Regions from separate parts of the Homo sapiens genome. Here region 1 is linked to region 2. The links are contacts of gene promoters, found by promoter capture Hi-C in blood cells and fetal thymus (Javierre and others, 2016). All regions are on one chromosome and are shown on one strand. The core of a region is centred on a gene start or on the middle of the fragment in contact, and the rest is flanking DNA. Distances in the headings are between cores, read along the strand shown.

What was found. The method cuts DNA at HindIII sites, captures the fragments that hold promoters and counts their contacts. A CHiCAGO score of 5 or more calls a contact.
Region 1: a fragment that was not itself captured here is called in contact with the fragment with the promoter of SPMIP5 in region 2 in 5 of 17 cell types (naive CD8 T cells, activated CD4 T cells, naive CD4 T cells and 2 more); the score reaches 6.1 in naive CD8 T cells.

What each region holds. Positions count from the first base shown.
Region 1 is chr10:117,196,642-117,202,368 of GRCh38, forward strand. It overlaps KCNK18 (potassium two pore domain channel subfamily K member 18), which reads left to right and starts at 848. Exons shown (of 3, transcript NM_181840.1): 1 at 848-1,070; 2 at 4,518-4,646. The coding sequence starts at 848. It also overlaps the pseudogene RPL12P26. The HindIII fragment of the contact is 4,991 bases long and covers 1,918-5,727 here.
Region 2 is chr10:116,667,548-116,673,022 of GRCh38, forward strand. SPMIP5 (sperm microtubule inner protein 5) reads right to left here and starts at 2,419. Exons shown (of 6, transcript NM_001350931.2): 1 at 2,380-2,419; 2 at 711-776. The coding sequence starts at 765. HSPA12A (heat shock protein family A (Hsp70) member 12A) reads right to left here. Exons shown (of 12, transcript NM_025015.3): 12 at 3,645-5,475. HSPA12A-AS1 (HSPA12A antisense RNA 1) reads left to right here and starts at 2,508. Exons shown (of 3, transcript NR_187551.1): 1 at 2,508-2,731; 2 at 2,847-2,938; 3 at 4,658-5,191. The HindIII fragment of the contact is 1,303 bases long and covers 1,928-3,230 here.

The sequences.
Region 1 (5,727 bases), core at 3,163-5,662, 530 kb after region 2:
ATGGTGGAGGTAGGTGGTGTTGGATGAACCTGGATTCAGGACCACCAAAGAAAGTTGCACATTGGTCTACTCTGAGCTGAAAATTGAAAGGTGGGGCACCTTTTCTCATGGCAGACACAGGCATAGCTAAGCAAGTCCAAATGCACAAGCACAGGCCTAGCCCCTGCTTGCATCACATCTGCTAATGCCCAGCTGTCTGGAGCAAGTGAGATGACCTACCCTAAAGCCAAGTTCAAGGAAGTACACTCTGCCCACCGTGAGGCCCCAGCAAGGGGGGGTATGCAGCAGGGGAGTGAAGAATTGGGACCAATAATTAGATCCACACAGGATAAAGGTCCTTTGGAAACCATTGAGCTCTGGCCGCATTAGTTACTATGGTTACTGTTACTATTATAGGTTACTACTATTATCACCTGTCCAGAAGACCAGGTACCCTAAGCCAAGTTGTGTCACAGACAGCTCTCAGGAAAGAATCACTTGACTAAACGCCAAAGATCAGGTTTGGGATCTGCAATTCAAAACTGCAGTTTGGGCATAGAAAAGATTAAACGTAGCACAAAACAACAACCACACTATCCTCCCAAAGCCCCTTCCAGGCAGCTCCAGGGCCGGCCCAGCGGATCAATAGCAATCTGGGGTGCTAGGGAGGGCGCCATCTGAGTAGTTCGGAAGAACTGAACATGATGAGTTGCCGGCTGCTTCCTGAGTCCTTGGGGAAGCACACGCACCATCCACTTAGCACTGGAGCCTGGCTGTTCTCCGGGCACTCCTACCCCATCTTCCTGGCGGGGCTTAGATGCTCCTGCCTCTTCCACCAGCTCCTCTTGCCCTGCATGCTTCAGGGACGATGGAGGTCTCGGGGCACCCCCAGGCCAGGAGATGCTGCCCAGAGGCCCTGGGAAAGCTCTTCCCTGGCCTCTGCTTCCTCTGCTTTCTGGTGACCTACGCCCTGGTGGGTGCTGTGGTCTTCTCTGCCATTGAGGACGGCCAGGTCCTGGTGGCAGCAGATGATGGAGAGTTTGAGAAGTTCTTGGAGGAGCTCTGCAGAATCTTGAACTGCAGTGAAACAGGTAGGTGCCTCACCTGGACAGGGTGGGCCTTTTCTCCGTGGTGGCAGCAGTCCCCCAAGAGCAGAGGGCTGCCTTCTAGGAGGCTGGGTCTGGGAGCTGCCTGCCTGGATCCTCCTCATGCCTGGGCACTTTAAGCGAGTAACTTCTTTCTGAACCTCTGTTTTCTCCTCTGAAAAGTGGGGAGACTAACTGCCTCTCAGGGTTGCTGTGAAGAATGCAGGAAAGGCCCTGAGCACCCTGAGGTGCTCAGGAAAGACCAGCTCCCCTTCCTGTGCCTCAGCACCCAGCCCCATCCAGACCAGTGGCCTCAGGGGACGATGGATTACTGGGAATTTGGTGGGGTGGGGTGCATGGGTGAGCAAATCTGGGGCTGGGGTTGGGGGGCTAGCTTGCTTTTCAGAACTATGTCTGCCTGACCCAGGATTCAGTTTGCAGGGATGAGAATTTAGGGAACAACCCAAATTGGATTTAAATTCCAGCAGGAGCACCTGCCACCCACGCCCCCACTTCCTGTTTCAAACTCCTTTTCTGCTGTCTGGCTCAGCGGAGTGGGGAGGTGTTGTGAGAAGACCTGGGGGGAGGGGTGGGGGTCCTGGCTGTTGTCCTGGCTGCTCTCCCAGCTTGCTCTGCAATCCGTGGAGGCAAAGCTTTGTTCTCTCTGGGTCTCAGTCTGCGGGAGAGAAGGGGACCCCCAATCTCAGACTTGGTGGTCACAGGGACCCTGTGAGAAGCAGAGGAGACAAGGAACATTCTGGCTCTTGGAAGACAGAAGTCACTTTATAGTGTCCTCATTGCATTTTCTTCATATTTAGTCACTTGTTTCTACTCTGCTGTGTTCCTCGAAGGAAGCTTGTTATTGTATTCAACAGAGCAAGATAAAACAAGGGAGAGTAGATAAATGAAAAACAAAGGAAAACCAGACACTAAAAGTCAGGAGAAGAATGGGGTGCAGGGAGCCCCTCCCCTCCCACTCTGGTGTGGGGGCTCCTTCCACAGCCCAGACCTTGATTTGGGAACAGGTGCAGCTCCCAGAGACAAGAGGCCAGTCCAGGGAGGCAGAGTCTCCTGTCTGTGGAGGGTCCCACTCCCTGCATCCTTGCCAGACAGACGCCAGCCTGCTCAGTGGACCTGGGAGATTGCTGCCAAAGGGACACTGCACCATCGCAGGGCCTAGACTACCAGCAAGTTCAAGGCTCTCTAAGCCAGCAACACATCAGAATCAACCAGGGAGACTGCCTAGAGTACACATCCCCAGGCTCTTCTCCAAACCCACTTAATCAGGATCTCCAGGGCTGGGCTGGGAATCTTAAAGTTTCAAGGATAAGGCCAAGCATGGTGGCTCATGCCCATAATCCTAGCATTTTGGGAGGCCAAGGTGGGAGAATCATTTGAGGCCAGGAGTTTGAGACTAGGCCTGGGCAACAAGGTGAGACCCTGTCTCTATAAAAAATTAAAAAATTTAGTCAGATGAGGTGGCGTGCACTTGTAGTCCCAGCTACTTGGGAGGCTGAGGCAGGAGGATTGCTTGAGCCTACGAGTTTGAGGCTACAGTGAGCCGTGATTGTGCCATTGCACTCCAGCCTGGATGACAGAGCCAGAGATGTCTCAAAAATAAATAAGTAAAAATAAAGTTTATCAGGTGATTCCAATGCACAGCAGGGTATGGGAACACAGAGCTGGTCCCACTCCATTTTGTACCGATTTTCACTGGAGATTAAAATGTTCCATAAGGGTTAGTTGCATGTAGACCCTGTGGCAAACACTTCACACATTATCTCACCTAATCCTCACAAGAAGCCTCACAAGAAAACAACAAAAAGTTGTCCTTCTTTTACAGATTAGGAAATTGAGGCCTTGGGAGGTTAAGCAATTTGTCCAAGTTCACAAACTAGAAAAATGGAACCAGGGACTTAAACCCATGTATCTGGATTCCAGAGCCTGAACCTTTCACCACCATCTCAGGCTGTCTCTCTGATGGGGAAACTGAGGCTCAGAAAGCAGCCTCTTGTCCACAGTTACAGAACTTATCAGGGTTAGAGCTGGGTCTAGAATCGATGTGTGTAGACTCCCAGGCTGGTGCCAATTAAAAGGAGTAGAGACTTCCTGCTGCATGCCAGGTTCAGTGCCATTCTCTTAAAGCCGAACAAGTCTAGCAGGTGGCCTCTGGGTCCCAAAGCCCACTGGCGGCTCAGGCCAATCGAGCCATTCAGGAACCTCTCTGGGAAACCAGGGTTCCCAACCCTGCTCTGTTAGCCTTGGAACCAATGTGTAGGAAGTCAAGTTTTCCCAGCTCTGTAGGAGACACTCACAGGTAGCTGGTGCCCAAAGATCACAGTATGATGGTATGATGATCAAACTCCATCAAGTTTTTATTTTTATTTTTCTAGATGGAGACTCACTCTGTCACTCAGGCTGGGATGCAGTGGCACGATCTTGGCTCACTGCAACCTCCACTCCCCAGGTTCAAGCAATTCTCCTGCCTCAGCCTCCTGAGTAGCTGGGACCACAGGTGTGTGCCACCACACCCGGCTAATTTTTGTATTTTTAGTAGAGACAGGGTTTCACCATGTTGGCCAGGCTGGTCTTGAACTCCTGACCTCAAATGATCCGCCCACCTTAGCCCTCCAAAGTGTTGCAATTATAGGCGTGAGCCATCGTGCCCGGCAAACTCCATCAAGCGTAATGACCTCCAGGAGTGGGTATGATTTGCATCTGTGTAACAGCTTGCTTTTCCTAAAAGCCTTTTGCTTTTAGTACTTGAGAACCCTGTGTGAGAGGCAGAGCAGAAGTTATCTTCCTTTGAAAGATGATAGAGGCGGGGCGCGGTGGCTCACGCCTATAATCCCAGCCCTTTGGGAGGCTGAGGCAGGTGGATCACAAGGTCAAGAAATTGAGACCATCCTGGCCAATGAGGTGAAACCCCGTCTCAACTAAATATACAAAAATTAGCTGGGCATGGGTGTGGTAGTACGCCCCTGTAGTCTCAGCTACGCAGGAGGCTGAAGCAAGAGGATTGCTTGAACCAGGGAGGTGGAGGTTGCAGCGAGCCGAGATCACACCACTGCACTCCAGCCTGGCAACAGAGCAAGACTCTTGTCTCAAGAAAAAAAAAAAACAGATGAAAGAAATGGCGGTTCAGAAAATTAAAAGGCAAAGACTACACAGCAATGCCAGGGCTAAGCTCTGGTGGGACCCCCATGGGCCTCTCTGTTAGGTGCTCTTCTCACAGGGCTAAGTGGCCTCCTTATCTCCATAGGGACTGAAGGCAGGACCCAGGCTGCAGAAATATTTTAAAGGAGGACTCCGACCACCGAGCTTTGGTGTTGATACTGACCACAAGGCAAAGGGGCTGCTGGTCCTTGGGGAAGACTATCCCTTTCACTGGGGCGGGGCTTGTCTTTACCAGCAGAACCTTTTCCTCAAACTCTTGGTCATGTCTTTCTCCAGTGGTGGAAGACAGAAAACAGGATCTCCAGGGGCATCTGCAGAAGGTGAAGCCTCAGTGGTTTAACAGGACCACACACTGGTCCTTCCTGAGCTCGCTCTTTTTCTGCTGCACGGTGTTCAGCACCGTGGGTAAGTGCAAAGCCACAGTCCCCCTCACGGTGGCCCTGTGAAGGGTGGGTTTCTGGGTGGCAAAGGACACTGGAATTGGGGTGTGGAGATGGCCCTCCTCTCCCTCTCTTCTTCCCTCCCTTCCTCAAATCTATATTGCACACCTACAAATAGCAGCAGCTGCGCTGGCCGACACCTTTGCACTGAAGATGCACCAGGCCCTGTTCTAAGACCTTTATGCTGATTAGCTCATCTAATCCTCACCAAGAGGTGGGTGCTGTTATTGTTCCCACTCCAGCAGGTCCGTCAGTTTCAAAAAGTCGCACAGTTCATGTGCGTTTGAACCCAGCCACTTGGGTCTAGACCCAGCACCCTGCTGCCTCTATGTATAACTTTCTATGCACCTGGCACATAGAAACTGGGAGGGAGATGCTTCCTCGTGCTTATGAGCAAAACGTTGGTTTACTGGCCCCTTTAAGGACATGACCATTGTGGCTGGAGGGCAGAGAATGATCAGGAGAGTGGTAGGGGATGCTGCAGGAGAGTTAGGCCTCCTGGGCTGGGGGCGTGATGCCACTGGGTCAGCAGTAACTAAGGTCCCTCTGGTGATTAAGGGCTCACTCTGAGCTGGCTGGCCCATCCCCAGCTTCCCTTCTGGTGGGGCAGCAGTGGGGCCAGGTTGGAGGGGCCAAACCAGGCCAGGCAGGAGACACAGGAGGCGATGGAGCTGCCTTCAGCCACAGGGCCAGAGCTCTTGGGTCAGAGCCCTCACCAGGAGCGTGGCCCATCACTCAGCCCCTGCCCCTCTTGGCTGGCAAAAGGGACTGTGGGCCCTCTCCTCCTTCGAGAGAGCAAGTGCCCATCCCTAGGAGGACCTGGCCCACAGGGGTTGCAGAGAGAGGCTGGGGCCCCTCATGCTGAAGGTCAGGATGGAGCACAGTGGCCAGCCTGGGTTGGAGCTGTGGAATCTCCAGCAAGGGACGTGGCCCCTCTGAGCCTTGTACTGGGACCCAAAAGCACTTCTAGACCTGCCTCTCAGGGTCAGCTGATGACTATGTATGTAAGTGGCAGCCAGGATGCCTTCAGCAGTGACTAACAGAAA
Region 2 (5,475 bases), core at 1,169-3,668:
GTGAGGTTGGGCAACCCTGGAATATCACCCAAGTACTATTCCTCCTGAGAACGGCTGTATGGGAGAGCCAAGGGTCTGTGGGGACCACTGGGTTTGTCACCCACAGGGATATGACTTAGTAAGTTCTCAGTAGCCCAGAAGCCTGAGGAGGAATAGCCTCTAGGTAGGGCAACCAATCGTCCTGGTTTGCCAAGGACTGAGGAGTTTCCCAAATGCAAGATTTTCAGTGTTAAGGAAAGTCCCAGGCAGTCCCAGGACAAAGGCAGTCCCAGGTAGACCAGGGCAGTTGGCCAGCCTTCCTTTAGGGGATGCAGGAAAGGATGGGAGCACAAGAATAACCTTTGTGGAGGACTTGAGAAAACCAACTTGGGGAGAACAGGGCCTCTACTTATTCATGTGTCTATCCTCATCACATTGTGTCTATCCTCATCACATTGTGTCTATCCTGGTCCAAATTCATTCAACAGGCATTAAGTGCTTCCTCTGCATACCAGGCCATGTTCTGGGACGTGTGGTCTAAGTTCTGCCCCTCAGAACCCGGCCATCAGCCATCTTCAGCGATGGAATGCTCTCAATGCATGTCTGAGAAGCTAGAGCGCCTAGACTGGTCCAGTTGGCTGCACAGACACAGACAGTGGGTCAAGGCAGGGACAGTGACCAGGACCCGGGTTCCCCTGCCAGGCACAGCTGCAGGGTACGTCCACACTTACCGCTATAGCCTGGTGTGATTGGCAGGTTTCTCATGAAGGTCTTGGAAGGCTCCATGATTTCGCTCTCTGTTAGTGGAGGGAAGAGGGAATGAAACGGTCTCATCAAAAGTCACTGCCTTAAGGAATTACTATTGAGTGTGCACAAGCTCTTGGGAGTGGAAGAATGACTGCCAGGAGTTGGGGCTGAGAGGCAGCACTACCACCTTACCCAAAGCCAGAGACACAGCTGGCTTCAGTCACAAACCAATGACCTATTACCAAGGGCCCATCACCTTTTATGTTAACTTGGATAACAGTGTGTAGATCACACCTACCAGGGTCTCCTCTCCCCTCCATCCGACCTCCAGCCATCCAACAATTGTGAACTGTACTCATACTATGGCTGTGAAACATGATAGAGGCTGGGAATGCAAAGCTTCTGAGCAAGCCCAGAAGCCCCTGTGTTAGGTTCATGAGCCTCAGGTGAGGAGAGAGATGAGGCCCGCACACCCCCAGACCTCCTTCTTGATCCAGGTGAAATCAGGTTGCAGTGGTGATTTTTGCCAGCCCCCACCATTACCCCTGGAACATCTGGCAATGTCCAGAGGCATATTTGGCTGTCAGAAGTGGGGGATGGGATGCTACTGAACATCCTGCAATGCTCAGAAGCCTCCCCCCACCCGCCGGCACACACATGCACACACACACACACACACACACACACACACACACACAAACAAGGGAGAAGAAATTCTGGCTTGAAGGAATCAGGAAGTCCCAAAAGGCAGACATGGAGTCCAAGGAGGGTAAGCAGAGGCCACCCTCTGCTTCAGGGGGCTCCACTGAAACATCAGTTTATGTGGATGCTGTTTCTGCAATAAGACACCTTCCCTCTTTGGGTATCGCTGGTCATTCCCCCCAAGTGGGCTGAGGCCTTGCCAAGTCCTGCCCTGCTGAGCCAGTTCATCTCTTTAAAGAAATGCCTTTGAGGCTGGAAGAAGAGGATTCAGGGTGGAGGAGAGGGCCACAGTCATGGCTTAGTCAGCAATGATGGGGATTGTTAAGACAGTTCAGCCCCCGCCAGGCTGACAGCAGTGAGGACTGTGCCGCGTCTAGGCCACTCTAACCCCTGGCATCACGTACCTGACTCCTGGGAGGAAGCACTGGGCCTGGAGTCAGACAGACCTGGCTGTGAGACCATGTCCCACCCATACTGACCACCTGCTTACTTTTCTGAAAGCTTTCCACGCTTGTTTAATCCTCTCAACAGCCCCATGATATAAATGCTATATTATACCCATTCCCCAATTTAAAAAGGCAACAGACAGGGAACACTGGCTATCCCCATGTGGTTGCAGCAGAACCGCATTCTCCTTTAATCCCCACAGCTTCCCTAAGAATGAGTTCCTGTTGGAACCCCCATTTTATAAATGTGAAAAATAAGGCACAGAGAGGTTAGGTAACTGGTTTCAGGGTTCCAGAGTGAAAGGGGGTGCGAACAGATGACCTCTAAACTCTCAGGGACAGGATATGTTGCCCAAAAGCATCAGCTGGGGTATAAGCCTGCCTGGAGGAGGTGGGCAGGGAGGAGGGTGGGAAGAAAGGCGGTGTCCTGAGAAAGGGGGCTAGGAGTGGGTAGAAAGTAGGGCCCCTCCTAGCCACCCTCTTCCAATCCCACCTCAGCGCTCACCTGGGCGGGGCTGGCGCTATCCGGTGCCCACTTGGCCTCTGCCCGGCCGCCCAGGATCCCTGCCTTCCACCAGGCCTTTGTGCGCTCACCCGGTGGAGCACAAAGGCCCCACCACCGCCAGCCTGCCCCTCCCCCACCCTTCCCGCGGTCCCACCTGGAAGGTGGGCGCTTCCCCCAGCGCCCGGCACAGCCCGGACCCCGGTGTAAAGTCGGGCATCTGCGCAGTAAACATCTGGCCTCGGAGCTGTCCTCCGCGCCTTGGCTGCCCCAGCCAGGGGAAGGATATGCGGAGGGCTCTAAGTCAAAGCGGGCGTTTTTGCGGGTGTAGACACTGCGGCGCCTGGGTCTGCAGGTCTGGCCGGGGAAGCGGGTGGGCGGGAACAGGGGGCGGGGCCGGCAGTGGGCGGGAGGAGGCGAGGCCTGGGGGCCCTGGCGCCTCCAATACAGGAGCTTCCTGGGCCTGGCAGCCCCTCCCTCCCTGTCTCCTGTTAGGAGGGGCAGATTTTCAGGTGGCCGGGACAGGTGAAGGCAGAGAGGAGTGGCTGTCCACCTGGGGAAGGTGAGTCATCCTTCTTTCTAATCACTCTTGGAGGGACACCCAGACTTCCTCTCATTGAATTGAAACCCACCAAGATGTCCGCCCTATGAACCAGCATGTGCTGGCTGCTCCCTTTACAGAAAATGACGCTGAAGCTGCGCTACTTCCAGGACACGCTTGTTTGCTGCACCTCCCGGCCTTCCCTACCTCTACTTTTCTGAAAATTGAACTGCAAATGAAGGCTGGTGGAGCCGACCACCATTTATACCTCTCTTTTATCACCCCATTTAGAACATACCTCGGGCCATCAGGAAGCTTTCAGAGCCAACTGTGGAGGGCGACTCAGGTGTAGGCTCTGGACACAGCCAGTTTCACGTGACGGCTGGGATGCCCAGGGGCAAGAGCCCAGCCAGGCCTTCTGCATGTTTTAATGACTTACACTGGGGTGCAGTGGCATTGGCAGTGGTCACTCTGCTTACCTGCCCTCCCTCTGGCTAGACCACTTTCTTCCAGAGAAAAGGGGCTCTGTGCCCATCGATGGGGCCTTGGTTCCCAGCAAACAAAGGGCCTAGTCTTGTTAGAATAACTTAAGAAAACTTACAGCACCTGGAAAAAACTGAAACTCTCTCTCCACCACCTGAGATGGGGTAGAGAGGGAGATCAGTACTGACGTGTCCATCATGCAGTTTGCAAACCCAGGATGGGGGGAAAAAAAATCTGGGCCACATGAGATTCAGAGTTTTGCTTTATTAGGCGTCTGTGAAGACAAGAGAGTTTGCAGACACAGTCCCGTCTGGTGGTGAACTGCTGCAAAGTTCTGTGAAGTTTGAATTTATCTTGTAGTGAATGAGACCCCAGTAGCTGATATTTTAGAATACTGGTCCATATTTCAAGCAGATGAGAGGTGTGGCATTATGGCCAACAACTTTTATATTAGCCATCCACTCAAGCCGTTTCCCAGCATACATATGCAGCTTAATCACAGCTATACATCTCTACAATGTGAAATTCGATCTTTGACTAATAATGCATTCTGACTCCTGTTTACATTGGTGCATGCGATTCTTTGCTACCCTGGCAATTAACCAGACCTGGACTCTAAAAGCTAAACTTGGTCTAAATAACATTCTAAGGGTAAGGCAACCTCTATAATCTGGACTCAGCCATCATTTTGCAAAAACAGTTGTATGGTTCCTCCTCTTTCCCCTCCTGTCTGTAACTTGTCTGTTACTCAGCATTTATTCATGCCTGCTGTGTACGGAAAGGGCAGTTACAAAGGAAAGCCTTGATGATTCTGCTTCCAAGAAACGTGAAGATCAGATAATATGCCAGGGACAATTGAGTAATGGGTCAAGACAACAGGCCTTGTAGGTATTTTCTAAGGTTAGAAAAATGTGTTCAAGTGTACTTATCCAGTGCTCTTATTCTAGAATATTCCAGTGGGGGTAGGGAAGGAGGGATGGATTTGGGGGTTTCATTTAAGGACTCTGACAACTGGGGCTGCAGCTCTGTGGCCAGAAGATAAAATTATCATCCTCTCCATCACCTATCTGCCAACACTGCAGATTTCTATCTGCTCATTTAAGAGAAACAGTACACAGGGAGATAGCATTAATGCAAGGCAGGAAAGGCTTTACATTAGCCCAAAAAAGAGGGGCTTGACCATGTTACTCACACTTACACTTAGCCCAGCAGAAAAGCTGGGCTTATGTACCACTTGGTTTCTTTCTTTGACCCTAGCATCCTGAAAACATCACACACAGTGGACCACGCTTTGCCCTCAGAGTGACTGCTCCGACCCGGAAGGAGAGGTCAACGACCCCTCAGGACACAAAGGGTTTCTTAGGTTGTTCTGCGCAGTCACATGGCTTCCAGAACCAGAACGTTCAGCTCTTAAAGTCTGCACAGAAGAACTGATAGAATCTGCTCCTTTCAATGGAATCTGTGACTGTTTGGGAAGGATGTGCATGGAGAAGGGTCTGATGAGGCTCCTGATCCAGGCGGTCCACGTGCGTTCAGTGTGTTTGGACCCTAGGCACCTCTGTCTATTGCTCGGTCTTGCGTACATAGTCCATAGCTTGGCATCAGCACAGATCGATGCTTAGTGAGCACAATTAAGAAACCAAACTATGGAAAATTAAGGACAGTAACAAAAGTATCATCAACAAAAATCAAGCATTTTCCTCTTTTTGAAACAAGAAAAGCGCATCGTAGAAACCAAGATTCTGTACAATATTCTAACATTATATGTACATAAAATTATATTACTCATAACTATATTGAAAAGTCTTATTTGTAGAATATGGCTGGCAACAAAGAAAGACCCATACCATTTAGCGTTTGAAGCAGGGCAGGTAGCAAGAGAACATTAGCAAAGACACCTTTGTGCCTGGATACACAATCCTGCTACTAAGTTATGTGACTAACCAGCACACTCTAAGTTCTGTGGTTTGTTCGTTGTTTCACATTCTAGTAGGGAATTCTGCAGCAGGCGATGCGAAAAAGAAGACATGGTCAAATGAAATGTGAAATGCTGTTTAAAATCTGCATATTGGCTA